3 separate regions of the Homo sapiens genome follow, and all the other regions are linked to region 2. The links are contacts of gene promoters, found by promoter capture Hi-C in human tissues and cell types (Jung and others, 2019). All regions are on one chromosome and are shown on one strand. Each heading gives the region's core, a stretch centred on a gene start or on the middle of the fragment in contact. The rest is flanking DNA. Distances are from core to core; before and after follow the strand shown.

Region 1 (4,158 bases), core at 845-3,344, 260 kb before region 2:
GACCAGGCCAGCCCTGGAGCTACAGGCCAGAGTGGGGCAACATAACAGAACTACTAACATGCCTCCTTTCGTCAGGCTGTGGAGGGACTAACAGAGCTGTTAGCATGCTATAACACCACCTCTGGGACTTCAGGGTCATGGGCTTCCCTGTTTGGGTGCCGCCGTGTTCTCCTTGTCTGAACGCCAGAGTACACAGTGGGAGCCGCTTGCAACACACCTGGTCCAGCCACAAACCCTACATGGAGCCTGCCCCTGTGTCAGTGCTTGCAGGGGCCAGTGGGACCCCACACTTGCTAGTTCACACACCCCCTCCCACCCAGGGGCTGAGTGCAAAGTCACGGTGGCTGTGGGATCCATGCCAGAGTGCAATCCAGCTGTGCCCTGGTGGGCTGAGTGGGCAGGGTGCCTCCTGCAACAAACCTGGGAACAGTGCAAGGCCAGGGCAGTGGCATTGCTGGCCAGAGGTCTCTGGGCAGCAATGTGGCTGAGAAAAATCCTGCATCGGTGGCAACTCCTGGGATGATCCTCTCGAAGCACTCAGCCGGGAGCCTGGCCCTGCAGACTCCTACATTATGAGCCTTTAGAAGACAAAAGAAATGCCCAAAACAAAGCAGTCCAGCTTTGCCTTAGTGATGGCTGTCAAGGGACCCAGTTAATCAATTAGAGATACATCTGCACTGTGAAGATGTGCATAGTTGGAGGGCAGAAAGTTAAAAATTAAAAGCTTACCAGATAGAGAAAAATCTTTTTTTTTTTTTTTTTCAGGCAGAGTCTTTCTCTGTCGCCCAGGCTGTGTGCAGTGGTGCCATCTCGGCTCACTGCAACTTCCGCCTCCCGAGTTCAAGCAATTCTCCTGCCTCAGCCTTCTGAGTAGCTGGGATTACAGGCGCCCACCACCATGCCTGGCTAATTTTTGTATTATTAGTAGAGATGGAGTTTCACCATATTGGCCAGGCTGGTCTCAAACTCCTGACCATGTGATCCACCTGCCTCAGCCTCCCAAAGTGTTGGGATTACAGGTGTGAACCACCGTGCCCGGCCAGGAAGATCTTCTGAACAAAAAAGGAAACTTGCAAGGAATCCTCTTGGAAAATGTAGGGCACAAAAAATATCCATTTAGATATAAATAGAGACATAGAGACACAACCCCTGGTAGGGATAGAGACAGGTACACACACACACAGAACTGAAGGCACACACACACACACACACACACACACACACACACTTTTTTTTGTTTTGTTTTGAGACAAGGTCTTGCTCTGTTGCCCAGGCTAGAGTGCAGTGGCATGATCATGGCTCATGACAGCCTCGACCTCCTGGGTTCAAGTGATCCTCCCACCTCAACCTCCCAAGTAGCTGGGACTACAGGTGTGCACCACCACACCTGGCTTTTTTTTTTTTTTTTGGGGTAAAGATAGGGTATCACCATGTTCCCAGGGCTGGTCTCCTGGGCTCAAGCAATCCTTCCGCCTCAGCTTCCCAAAGTGCTGGGATTACAGGCGTGAGCCACAATACCTAGACAGGCACAGACTCATAGAGTAAGCTCCAAAAAAATTCTCAAGCCACATGCCACCTGGAGAGACTACTGTCTGCAAGGGTGTCACAGGAGGCCGTGTGGGGGTCTGGGTTGCCTCCCACCTAGATACTCCAGGATAATCTTCTTGTCTCAAAACCTATAACTTCGGCCAGGTGTGGTGGCTCACACCTGTAATTTCAGCAGTTTGGGAAGCTGGGGCAGGAGGATAACTTTAGCTTAGGAATTCGAGACCAGCCTGGGCAACGTAGGGAGACCTCGTCTCTAAAAAACAAAGATCCCCCCACCCACCTTAACGTCATTATATCTGCAAAGTTATTTTTGCCATATAAGGAAACATTCACAAATTCCAGAGGTTAGGACCTGGATAATTTTGGCAGAAGGGGGGATTATTCAGTCTACCATACACCATAGTTATTTATTTAAATTTTTTTTGAGACACAGTCTCACTCTGTTACCCAGGGTGGAGTGCAGTGGTGCGATCTTGGCTCATTGCAATCTCCACCTCCTGGGTTCCAGCAATTCTCCTGCCTCAGCCTCCCAAGTAGCTGGGATTATAGGTGCACTCTGCCACGCCTGGCTAATTTTTGTATTTTTAGTAGAGATGGGGTTTTACTATGTTGGCCAGGCTGGTCTCAAACTCCTGACCTCATGTGATCCACCTGCCTTGGCCTCCCAAAATGCTGGGATTATAGGCGTGAGCTACCATGCCTGGGCTCTTTTTTTTTTTTTTTTTTTTTTTTTTTTTTGAGATGGAGTCTTGATCTGTTGCTCAGGCTGGAGTGCAATGGCATGATCTTGGCTCACTGCAACCTCCATCTCCCAGGTTCAAGCAATTTTCTTGCCTCAGCCTCCCTAGTAGCTGGGACTACAGCCATGTACCACCACACCCAGCTAATTTTTTTGTATTTTTAGTAGAGATGGGGTTTCACTGGTGTTGGCCAGGCTGGTCTCCTGACCTCAAGTAATCCTCGGCCTCCCAAAGTGCTGGGAATACAGGCATCAGCAACCACGCCTGTCGTCTTGCTATGTTGCCCAGGCTGGTCTTGAACTCCTGACCTCAAGTGATCCTCCCACCTCGGCCTCCCAAGGTGCTGTGATTACAGGCATGAACCACCATGTCTGGCTCGGACCATAGTTCTTTTATAATAATAGTGGTCATCATTCTAGTAGTTGTTATCTAATCACATTTTATAATCATTAGTTCTAAAATATTAAGTGCCAAAATAAATAAATAAAAAAGAAAAAAAATAAAAATAAAATAAAATCTTAAGTGCCAGGTTCTGGGCTAAGAGATCTAGGTACAGTATCACATCTAATTCTTCCAGCAACTCTCTGGAATAGGGACCTTTGCTACCCTGAAGAAACAAGTAGAGACAATAGCGCTAAGAAACAGAGAAGCCTAGGCCGGGTGCAGTGGCTCACGCCTGTAATCCCAACACTTTGGGAGGCCTAGGTGGGTAGATCACCTGAGGTCAGGAGTTTGAGACCAGCCTGGCCAACATGATGAAACTCCATTTCTATTAAAAATACAAAAAATTAGCCAGGCGTGGTAGCGGGTGCCTGTAATCCCAGCTACCTGGGGGACTGAGATAGGAGAATCGAGGTAACGGTTGCAGTGAGCAGAGAGAGTGCCACTGCACTCCAGCATGGGTGACAGAGCAAGACTCCATCTCAGAAAAAAAAATAAATAAAGAAATATAAAAATACAAAAAGTTATCCAGGCATGGTGGTACATGTCTGTAATCCCAGCTACTTGGGAGGCTGAGGCAGGGGAATCACTTGAACCTGGGAGGTGGAGGTTGCGGTGAACCAAGATCGCACCATTGCACTCTGGCCTGGGTGACAGAGCAAGACTCTGTCTCAAAAAAAGAAATTATATATATATATATATATTTGTGGAATGAATGAGTAAATTAATATGTGAAAGAAGCTGTGGTGTTAAAAAATATTTTAAACAAAAACGATGGCCGGACACGGTGGCTGACGCGTTGAATCCCAGCACTTTGGGAGGCTGAGGTGGGTGGATCACTCAAAATACAAAAATTTACCCGTCTCTACTAAAAATGCAAAAATTAGCCTGGCGTGGTGGCACATGCCTGTAACCCCAGGTACTCGGGAGGCTGAGGCAGGAGAATCGCTTCAACCGGGCAGGCAGAGGTTGCAGTGAGCCGAGATCGTGCCGCTGCACTCCAGCCTGGATGACAGAGTGAGACTCCATCTCAAAACAAAAAAAAAACCTCGGTGAAGTCTGGTCTGACCCCGGAGCCCTTAATCACCACCCCAGGATACCCCATTCACAAGCACAAGAAACACAGTTACACTCAGATGCCCCCTTCTCTGGGCAGAGGTTTCCTAAGACTTTGTATATATTAAGTTTTGTTAATTGCACCTCACTGAAAGGTGTTGGCCCTCTGTGCTCTCCGCCTGCCATGATTCTGGGATTTTGGTCCTCCCTGGCATCGACCCTGCTGAATCCAGACAGTAGAGACTGGGGAGTTGCTTGTTGGTGTCAGGGGATCTCTGAAAACCATGGGCTCAGGTCGTGACTTTGCAAATAATACTTCCCGGGGGAACACTGGGCATAGCATTTTTTTTCTTTTTTTGAGACAGAGTCTTGC
Region 2 (4,108 bases), core at 1,261-3,760:
TGACTGAGTGGGGCCATCCTGCCAGGGGGAGCGCTCACCTTGGGAGGAGGAGCTGGTGGAGAATGACACTCTGTGGTTTGTAATTCATGATCACTGTATTTGGGGGACTCTTTGTTCCAGCAGCTCAGCCAACTCTACTCAGCAGGGGTCCCTGATCCAAGTTGTCCTCCTCATCTGTAGGGGCTTATCCAGGGTTAGTGAGACCTCATGTTTGCTTATACAATTCAGGGGCTTCTTGGAAAGAGAATGGGCTGGACCCGGTGACTCAAGCCTGTAATCCCAGTTCGGGGAGGGGCTGGAGAGGGTGGAGGATGGTGCCGAGGAGAGAGAATCACTTGAGCCCAGGAGTTTGAGGCTACAGTGAGATGTGATCACGCAAGAGACAGGATCTTGCTGTTGCTCAGGCTGGTCGTGAACTCCTGACCTCAAACAGTCCTCCCATCTCAGCTTCCACCAGTAGCTGGGATTATGGGCTTGTGCCACCACACCCAGCCAATTCTCTAATTTTTTATAGAGACAGGATCTTGCTATGTTGCCCAGGCTGGTCTGGGCTCAAGTGATCCTCCCAACTCAGCCACCCAAAGTGCTGTGATTACAGGCTTGAGCAATCACATCCAGGCTCTAAATTAATTTTAAAGATGCTTCATTTCACCCAATACATCCAAAGTGCTATCATTTCAACATCTAATGAATATATAAATTATAATTAAGCTGTTTTACTTTTTTTTTTTTCTCCACAGTAAATCTTCAAATTCTGGGGTATGTTTTACACTCACTGAAAAAATGAGGTTGCACCACCTACATTCCAGGTGCTCGATAGTGACATGTGACCTGGGGACCCCAGTGGACAGCACAGACTCAATGAACCTGCTGTTCTAGATGCTACTTTTAGGGTAATTTGTTATGGCAGCAATGCAAAGGAAATACACACCAACGCACACACAGTCCCACGTCATGGGTGTCTTTTCCTCATTGTTTATTTCAACAAGGATTTCAAAAAGTAGAAAAATAAACATTTTCCTGGAGGTGAGTTGGATTTACATACACAAATACATAAATAGCGACTGGGTGACAATAAATTAAGCCAAGTGGCTAATTTATAAATAAAATCTCAGGTTGCATGACTGGCGGAAGGGTCAGACACACAGGTCCCCGCTGGCAACACAATTCAGGTCTCGCGTGAGGAGGCGGAAGAGGTTGAAGGTGACAGAGGCCTCGAGGCAGCCAGGGGACTCCTGTAGGGAGGAGGGGATGGGTCAGGGGCTGTCTGGGTTCTGGGCTCCCAGTGGCTCCCCAGACCTCAGTCCCTCTCTTCCCGGGTCACTCACCTTTTTTGGGGCCTCCTGGAGCCGGTGCAGCCAATGGTGGAGGCGGCCCCGGGTCCTGGGCCCTGCCGTGGGCTGAGGCTGGATCTGTGGGCAGAGGAGGGCGGTGTGTGAGCCGGGGCCTTGGCCAGGGGAAGGACGCTGCTCAGAGCTCACAGACCTGGGTGCCCGGGCCCTGACGACTCACACAGGCCCGGAGCTGGGAGAGGATATGGTGCAGGGTGTGAAGGGGCTGGTCCAAGACATCCCCCAGGGCTGGGTCAGTGTCAGCGGTGGCCTCCAGAACCTTCAGCGTCAGGGCCAGCTCAGCCTCCAAAGCCACGGGGCGCTCCCTCACCTGAGGAGAGGTGAGAAAGAGCAGGTGAGGGGGGAGGTGAGGGGAACAGGTTGGGGGAGGAGGATAGAGAGGAACAAGTGAAGGTGACAGGCACAGGGGAGAGGGCACAGCCAGTGTGGTCAGGTAGGAGCAGAGGGAAGGGGTAGCAGGTGTGGGGAGAGGAGAGAGGGACAATGGAGAAGGAGAAGGTGAAGGGGCCACTACAGAGCCAGGTGAGCAGGGCTGGGAGGGCAGGGGTGGGCCTGACTCCCCCTCTCACCTGCAGCTGCCTCAGGTCCCAGGTCCTGGGGAAGAGGCGGGAGCGGCACTTGCAGTCCTTCAGCAGAAGCGACTCTTCCTAGACAGCAAAGGCACAGGTTAGCCCCAGCAGGAGGGGTGGAGGTTAGACCACTCTGATGGGATTGGAGGATGGCTGACAACAGGATAGGGGAGGTTAACTGCTGGGAGGATGGTAGAGGACCCTCTTCTTCAGGAAAACATGAGTCAGTCCCTGCAGTAGGAGCATGAGATAGCCCACTGCAGGGAGGGTGGAGGCTAGCCCAGTGAAGGAAGCTGGGAGTGGGAAAGCATGGTGACCCTTGGAGTGCGGGTGGAGGCTAGTCCATGGCAGGAGGGCAGGGGGAGACTCACTAAGGCATCTTTGGCCCTCTTAAAGGCCTGCAGCTCCTGTGGAGACAGGGACTTGAACTGGGCTATGTGGCAGCCCCTTGCATCCGGGAGAGCCCCGCGGAGCCTGGCGACAGGAACTGCTCCAGTCACGGTCAGCACTGCGGCCATCAGCACCAGCACTGGCATGCAGTCCCCGGTCATGTCTGTGTCACAGAGAGAAAGGGAGCTGAGGGAATGCAGAGGCTGCCCACTGAGGGCAGGGGCTGCAGGAGCTGAGCACGGACAGAGATGTGGGACTCACCTAGTTTCATTCCTGATCTCTGGTCTTTGTCAGCAGAAGAAACACTCTGAGGCTGTCACCCAGGGTCTGTTTGGGTCTTGTCTGGAGTCTCTGTTCTTTTCAGTCCCCTCTTCTGGATCTCAGACTGTGTCCTGGCTTTGACTCTTTCTGTCAGTTTTGAGCTCTGTCTGGGATGTAATTCCTGCCTGAGCTCCATGGGGCAGCTTTTATCCCTGACAGAAGGGCAGTCCCAGCTGATGTAGGAAAAGTGAAAACACAGCCTCAGGTAAGACACCGGCCACCAGGGGAGCCCCAGGCTGGGAAAGCCCAGAGCAGGGCAGGGCTAGTGAGCCAGATGAGCAGCTGGAGGGAAAGAGAAACTGATGGAGACTCAGGGGTAACCTACAGGAAGGTATGTTCCCAAGAGGATTCCACCTGCTCTGGTTTTGTTGTTGTTTAAGACAGGGTCTCACTCTGTCACTGCAGTGCAATGGCATGATCACAGCTCACTGCAGCCTCAAACTCCTGGGCTCAAGCCATCCTCCTCACCCAGCCTATTAAAGTGCTGAGATTACAGGCCTGAGCCACCACTCCTGGCATATATATATATATATATATATATATATTTTGAGACAGGGTCTTGTTCGGTCACCCAGGCTGGAGTGCAGTGCAAAATCTTGGCTAACTGCAACCTCCGCCTCCTGGGTTCAAGCAATTCTCTTGCCTTAGCCTCCCAAGTAGCTGAGATTACAGATTTGTGCCACCATTCCCAGCTAATTTTTATATTTTTAGTAGAGATGGCGTTTCACCATGTTGGCAAGGCTGGTCTCAAATTCCTGATGTCAAGTCATCTCTCTGTCTAGGCCTCCCAAATTGCTGGGATTTCAGTGTGAGCCACCATGCCCAGAGGCCAATATTTCTTAATTGCCCAGGCAAGGAAGGACTCAGGAATATGAGGCTCTGCTCAAGAATTGAGGTGTGACGAAGGACTTGAAGGACACCACGTGGGTGCCGTCTTTCTTAGGGAAGTTCAGGCAGTGGTGAAGAGCATGGGTCTTGGAGATGAAGGGTCTGGGGTTCAAACCTGGTTCTGACCCTCACTAGCCGTGTGACCTTGGCAAGGAGGGGTGCATTCAGCAACGCAGATTGCTAATGCACAGATTTGGAGAAAAAATTAATAACACAATTGTTTGTGTATTTATGTGAGTGATTATTTAATAGAATCCACTCATTAAGACCATACTAGGACCTCAGCTGGAGAGTTTAAAACGTGATCTCAACGGACACTACTCCTCCACAAGGCAAGTATGCTAACCCATCCTATAGGTGAGGAAACAGAGGCTCAGAAAAGTAATTTGCCCTGAATTCCACTGTAATTAACTGGCAGGGTCAGAACTGAAACTCAGGCCACCTGAGTCCCTGGCTCGGCCTCTTTTTTTGCTGTAAGGTGCACCTCACAATCATCATACGGAAAACAACCAATGCGATCAAAACACTCTTTGATAACTGGCAATAAATTTAAACCGGGAGACAGAATAGCAAATGCACAGGAACTTC
Region 3 (4,094 bases), core at 150-2,649, 310 kb after region 2:
TTCCACCTGTCAAAAAAAAAAAAAAAAAAAAAAAAGAGGCCAGGACTCAGAGCATCCTGGTAACGGTTGTGCAGAATCCACACTCCAGCTGGGAACACTGGGGAAAGTGGAGCCCACCGTTTTCTCTCTCCTTACTGTCGGGTCAGGCTTCTGCCCACTAGAGGGCAGCCAAGTCAAAATCTTGATAGAAACAAGTTCTAAAGACTTACCCAGATTTGCTATCTCTTCTGAGATAGTGTTTTTTTTTTCTTTTTTTTTCCTCTTTTTTTTTTGAAATAAGGCCTGGCTCTGTCGCTCAGGCTGGAGTGCAGTGGCACGATCTCGGCTCACGGCAACCTTTGCCTCCTGGGCTCAAGCTATCCCCCTGCCTCAGCCTCACGAATAGCTAGGATTACAAATGCATGCCACCATGCCCGGCTAATTTTTGTAGAGACGGGGTTTCACCATGTTGTCCAGGCTGGTCTTGAACTCCTGGGCTCAAGAGATCCACCTGCCTTGGCCCCCGAAAGTGTTGGGATTACAGGCGTGAGCCATCAGGGGCGGCCTTCTGAGATTGTTAATGTGAAAAATTCTATCGAAGTTGTCTATCAAAGTTGTCATCCACCATTTGTCTCTTATGAGTGTTCTTTTTTTTGAGATGGAGTCTTGCTCTGTCGCCCAGGCTGGAGTGCAATGGTGCGATCTCGGCTCACTACAACCTCCACCTCCCAGGTTCAAGCGATTTTCCTGCCTCAGCCTCACAAGTAGCTGGGATTACAGGCTCTCGCCACCATGCTGGCTAATTTTTGTATTTTCAGTAGAGGTGGGTTTCACTATCTTGGTCAAGCTGGTCTCGAACTCCTGACCTCAGGTGATCCGCCCACCTTTGGCCTCCCAAAGTGCTGGGATTACAGGTGTGAGCCACCGTGCCTGGCCCTTTTGAGTGTTCTTTTGGGACCCTGTCAGAGCAACTTACTAAGTACTTCCTCTATTGTTAACTTGTTGAGTTGATGTCTCCTCTGAAATTTTGTGTATATTTTGAGGAGATGGACTATTTCTAGAGGTCTCTCCAGAACTGAAACTGTGGTTTCCTGTAAGTCTACGAATACTGACTTCTCTTTTTTTTCCCTTTGAGACAAGGTCTTGTTCTGTCACCCAGGCTGGTGCAATCATGTCTCACTGCAGCTTCGACCTCCTGGGCTCCACTGATCCTCCTACCTCCGCCTCCTGAGTAGTTGGGACAATAGGCATATGCCACCATGCCTGGCTAATTTTTTTTGTTTTTGGTATATTTTGTAGAGATGGGGTTTTGCCATGTTGCCCAGGTTCTGACTTTTAATAAATAAGAAATTTGGTCTCTGTATCTTTCTTTTCCCCTTTATACTTCACTGAAGAAAATGAAGGTGGGCTTCTTCATGGGGCTGGGCCAGTAAAATTAGGCTACACTCATATAAGCATTTCCCCAAATCCTCCTAATACCTCTTGTGAAAAAGGGTATCTGCCACATAATACCATCAATTCTGTGACAAATTATTCTAACCCGCTGGTTCTCCATCCTGTCTGCACATTGAAATCACAGGGGAATGACATCTACTGATGCCCCTGTCTCTCTCTCAGAGATTCTGAGTGGGGAGGGAATTTGTGTTGGTGTAAGTGTGTGCCCCACAAGGGAAGGACCTGCCCAACACACCGTGTGCTTTGCCCTCAGCAAGGAGCCACAGCTGCAGGTGGATTTCCACACCGGGATGGATGAGGACTCAGACATCGCTTTCCATTTCCGAGTGCACTTTGGTCATTGTGTGGCCATGAACAGCCATGAGTGGGGGGTCTGGAAGTGTGAGGTGAAATCTGACAATATGCCCTTTGAGGGTGGCCAATCATTTGACCTGCGCATCTGAGTGCTGGACAAGGAGGACCAGGTGAGCACCCCAGGAGCTCCCAGCATGCAGCCTCTGTGGACTCCCAGAGCAGGAGGTAGCTCTCCCTGCCCTGGCCCCACCAGTCCCTCGGGACCCATCTCCCATAACGACTCCTGCCCCAGGCTTTTCATCACAGAGCACCCTCTGCTTGCACTGCCACCCTCAGCTCTTTCCCAAATCTGACCAAGGTCAAGGTTGGTTCACTTGCCATTTCCCCCAAGGTGGAGAATCATTTCCATAGCTGTCATTTCTGCTCATGCTGTTATTTACATTTTCATGTGGCCAAATAGACAAAATACATGTATGAATCAAATTATTTTAGTCAGTCAAAAATTAACTCTTCCTTTCACTCCCGAACCTCACTCCTACTCCCCAGAACAACACTACCAGCTTCTCTGCTCTCCTTCCAGAGATAATCTACCATTAGAGAACCGTATATTTCCTCTTCCTCATTTGTATAATATGCTTTCATTCCTTTTTGTATATATGCCTATACACATATTCATATATACATATATGCATATATGCTTTCATTTCTTTTTAAACAAATGCTGTTATAAATGTCTTTGTACATTACACTTTGGAAACTAGAGTCGATTTATAGTCAAAGAACATATCTTGGAGAATTCATCTATCTATGGTGCTGCTTCATTTTTCTTTTTTTTTTTTTTGAGATGGAGTTTCGCTCTTGTTGCTCAGGCTGGAGTGCAATGGCGCAATCTCAGCTCACTGCAACCTCCACCTCACAGGTCCAAGCGATTCTCCTGCCTCAGCCTCCCAAGTAGCTGGGATTAAAGAGATGCACCACCACGCCTGGTTAATTTTTTGTATTTTTAGTATAGATGGGGTTTCTCCATGTTGGTCTGGCTGGTCTCGAACTCCTGACCTTAGGTAATCTGCCCGCCTTGGCCTCCCAAAGTGCTGGCATTACAGGCATGAGCCACTGCGCTTGGCCTGCTGCTTCATTTTTTAAAGATTGCATAATATGCCAGTAGAAGGATGATCCAAAATGATTGAACTTGACCGTTTTGATGGTTACTGCGTGGTTTTTAGTATTTTGCTCTCACAAAGGGTGCTGTATTAAGCTTTCTAATCAACTCTTTTGTAATTATCAACCTACCAATACTTACATTGGAGGATACTTGCAAAGACATAAAATAATTGGTTGAAAATTGTGTGAAAAATCTTAAAATTTCATAAATTAATACCTTTAAGATGACTTTCTTCATAGCTACAGCAATACAGATTATATTGAAATTTTCTCACCTTCTCTAACGGGTAGGCCAAAAGGTGAACATTTTATTCAGCTCTAAGTGAGGCATCTGTTCATATGCCTACTATAGGCTGCTAAAATAATATCCTATGTTTTGCAACATCTGTCCTGTTCCTCCTCTCTAAGAACACTTGGGTTTCATTCTTGGCCACCTCCAGCCCAGATCTGGGCTACTCCAAAGAGAAACTGGGCCATCAGCAGTGAATGGGAGTCACAGTTGGTGGAACTTAAAAGTACCCATTCAATAAACATTGTCAAGCACTAACCTCGTGGCAGGCCCTGTGCAAGATGCAGGAATTCAAGGTCAAGAGACACAATCCCTGGCCATGGGGATCTTCCAGGCTAGAGGGGAGATCCAGCAAACAGGGACCACGTGACATAGAGGGGTAGAGCCTCACTGGAAGAATGAGAGGAAACATTGAAAATGCAGTGAGCAACTGTCTCAGATAGCCACAAAATGTAGTCTGTAAACAGAAGTGAGTCTGCCGGGTTTTGATGTATAATTAGGAGTTTTCTGGGTGGGTGTTGTAGGTACTAGGGCAGAGTAGAGAGGAGGCTGAAAGCTTGTTTGGTGAAATACTGTCTTTCTGATGCACTTTTCCTCTTGCAGGTAATGGTAAGTGGCCAACACTGCTACAGCTTTGCCCATCGACTCCTGCCAGGGTCTGTGAAGATGGTGCAAGTGTGGAGAGGTATCCCCCTGACCTCAATGTGTGTCTGAGATTGAGGTGATGACCACACTCCCCACTGTCGAGGAATCTCTCTTTCTACGTGACCATGCGGTTCCCAGAGCCTGCTGACAGCATGATCCCTCCTTACTCCTTCCCCTACACTTGCTCATTAAAACTTCACCAAACTTCACAGGATTTTGGCTTTTGCTTGAAGGGGAAAAAGCAAAAGTGGTCATCACCAAGAGGGCCTGA

The links. The method cuts DNA at HindIII sites, captures the fragments that hold promoters and counts their contacts. A contact is called where the count stands out against the background at its distance.
Region 1: a fragment that was not itself captured here is called in contact with the fragment with the promoter of IFNL3 in region 2 in 2 of the 25 tissues and cell types used here (H1 embryonic stem cells and spleen).
Region 3: a fragment that was not itself captured here is called in contact with the fragment with the promoter of IFNL3 in region 2 in 1 of the 25 tissues and cell types used here (spleen).

The regions. Positions count from the first base shown.
Region 1 is chr19:38,980,878-38,985,035 of GRCh38, forward strand. No RefSeq gene overlaps it. Among named protein-coding and RNA genes, the nearest start is that of FBXO17, 7.2 kb to the left of the region's middle. The HindIII fragment of the contact is 8,720 bases long and covers 1-4,158 here.
Region 2 is chr19:39,242,496-39,246,603 of GRCh38, forward strand. It overlaps IFNL3 (interferon lambda 3), which reads right to left and starts at 2,511. Exons shown (of 5, transcript NM_172139.4): 1 at 2,293-2,511; 2 at 1,922-1,999; 3 at 1,513-1,662; 4 at 1,329-1,412; 5 at 1,058-1,235. The coding sequence starts at 2,472. The coding sequence ends at 1,137. It also overlaps the pseudogene IFNL4. The HindIII fragment of the contact is 34,684 bases long and covers 1-4,108 here.
Region 3 is chr19:39,551,459-39,555,552 of GRCh38, forward strand. It overlaps LOC105372399 (a long non-coding RNA gene), which reads left to right. Exons shown (of 3, transcript XR_935966.3): 2 at 1,688-1,898; 3 at 3,782-4,094. Among named protein-coding and RNA genes, the nearest start is that of EID2, 13 kb to the left of the region's middle. RefSeq lists an enhancer at 1,160-1,249. The HindIII fragment of the contact is 3,917 bases long and covers 1-3,358 here.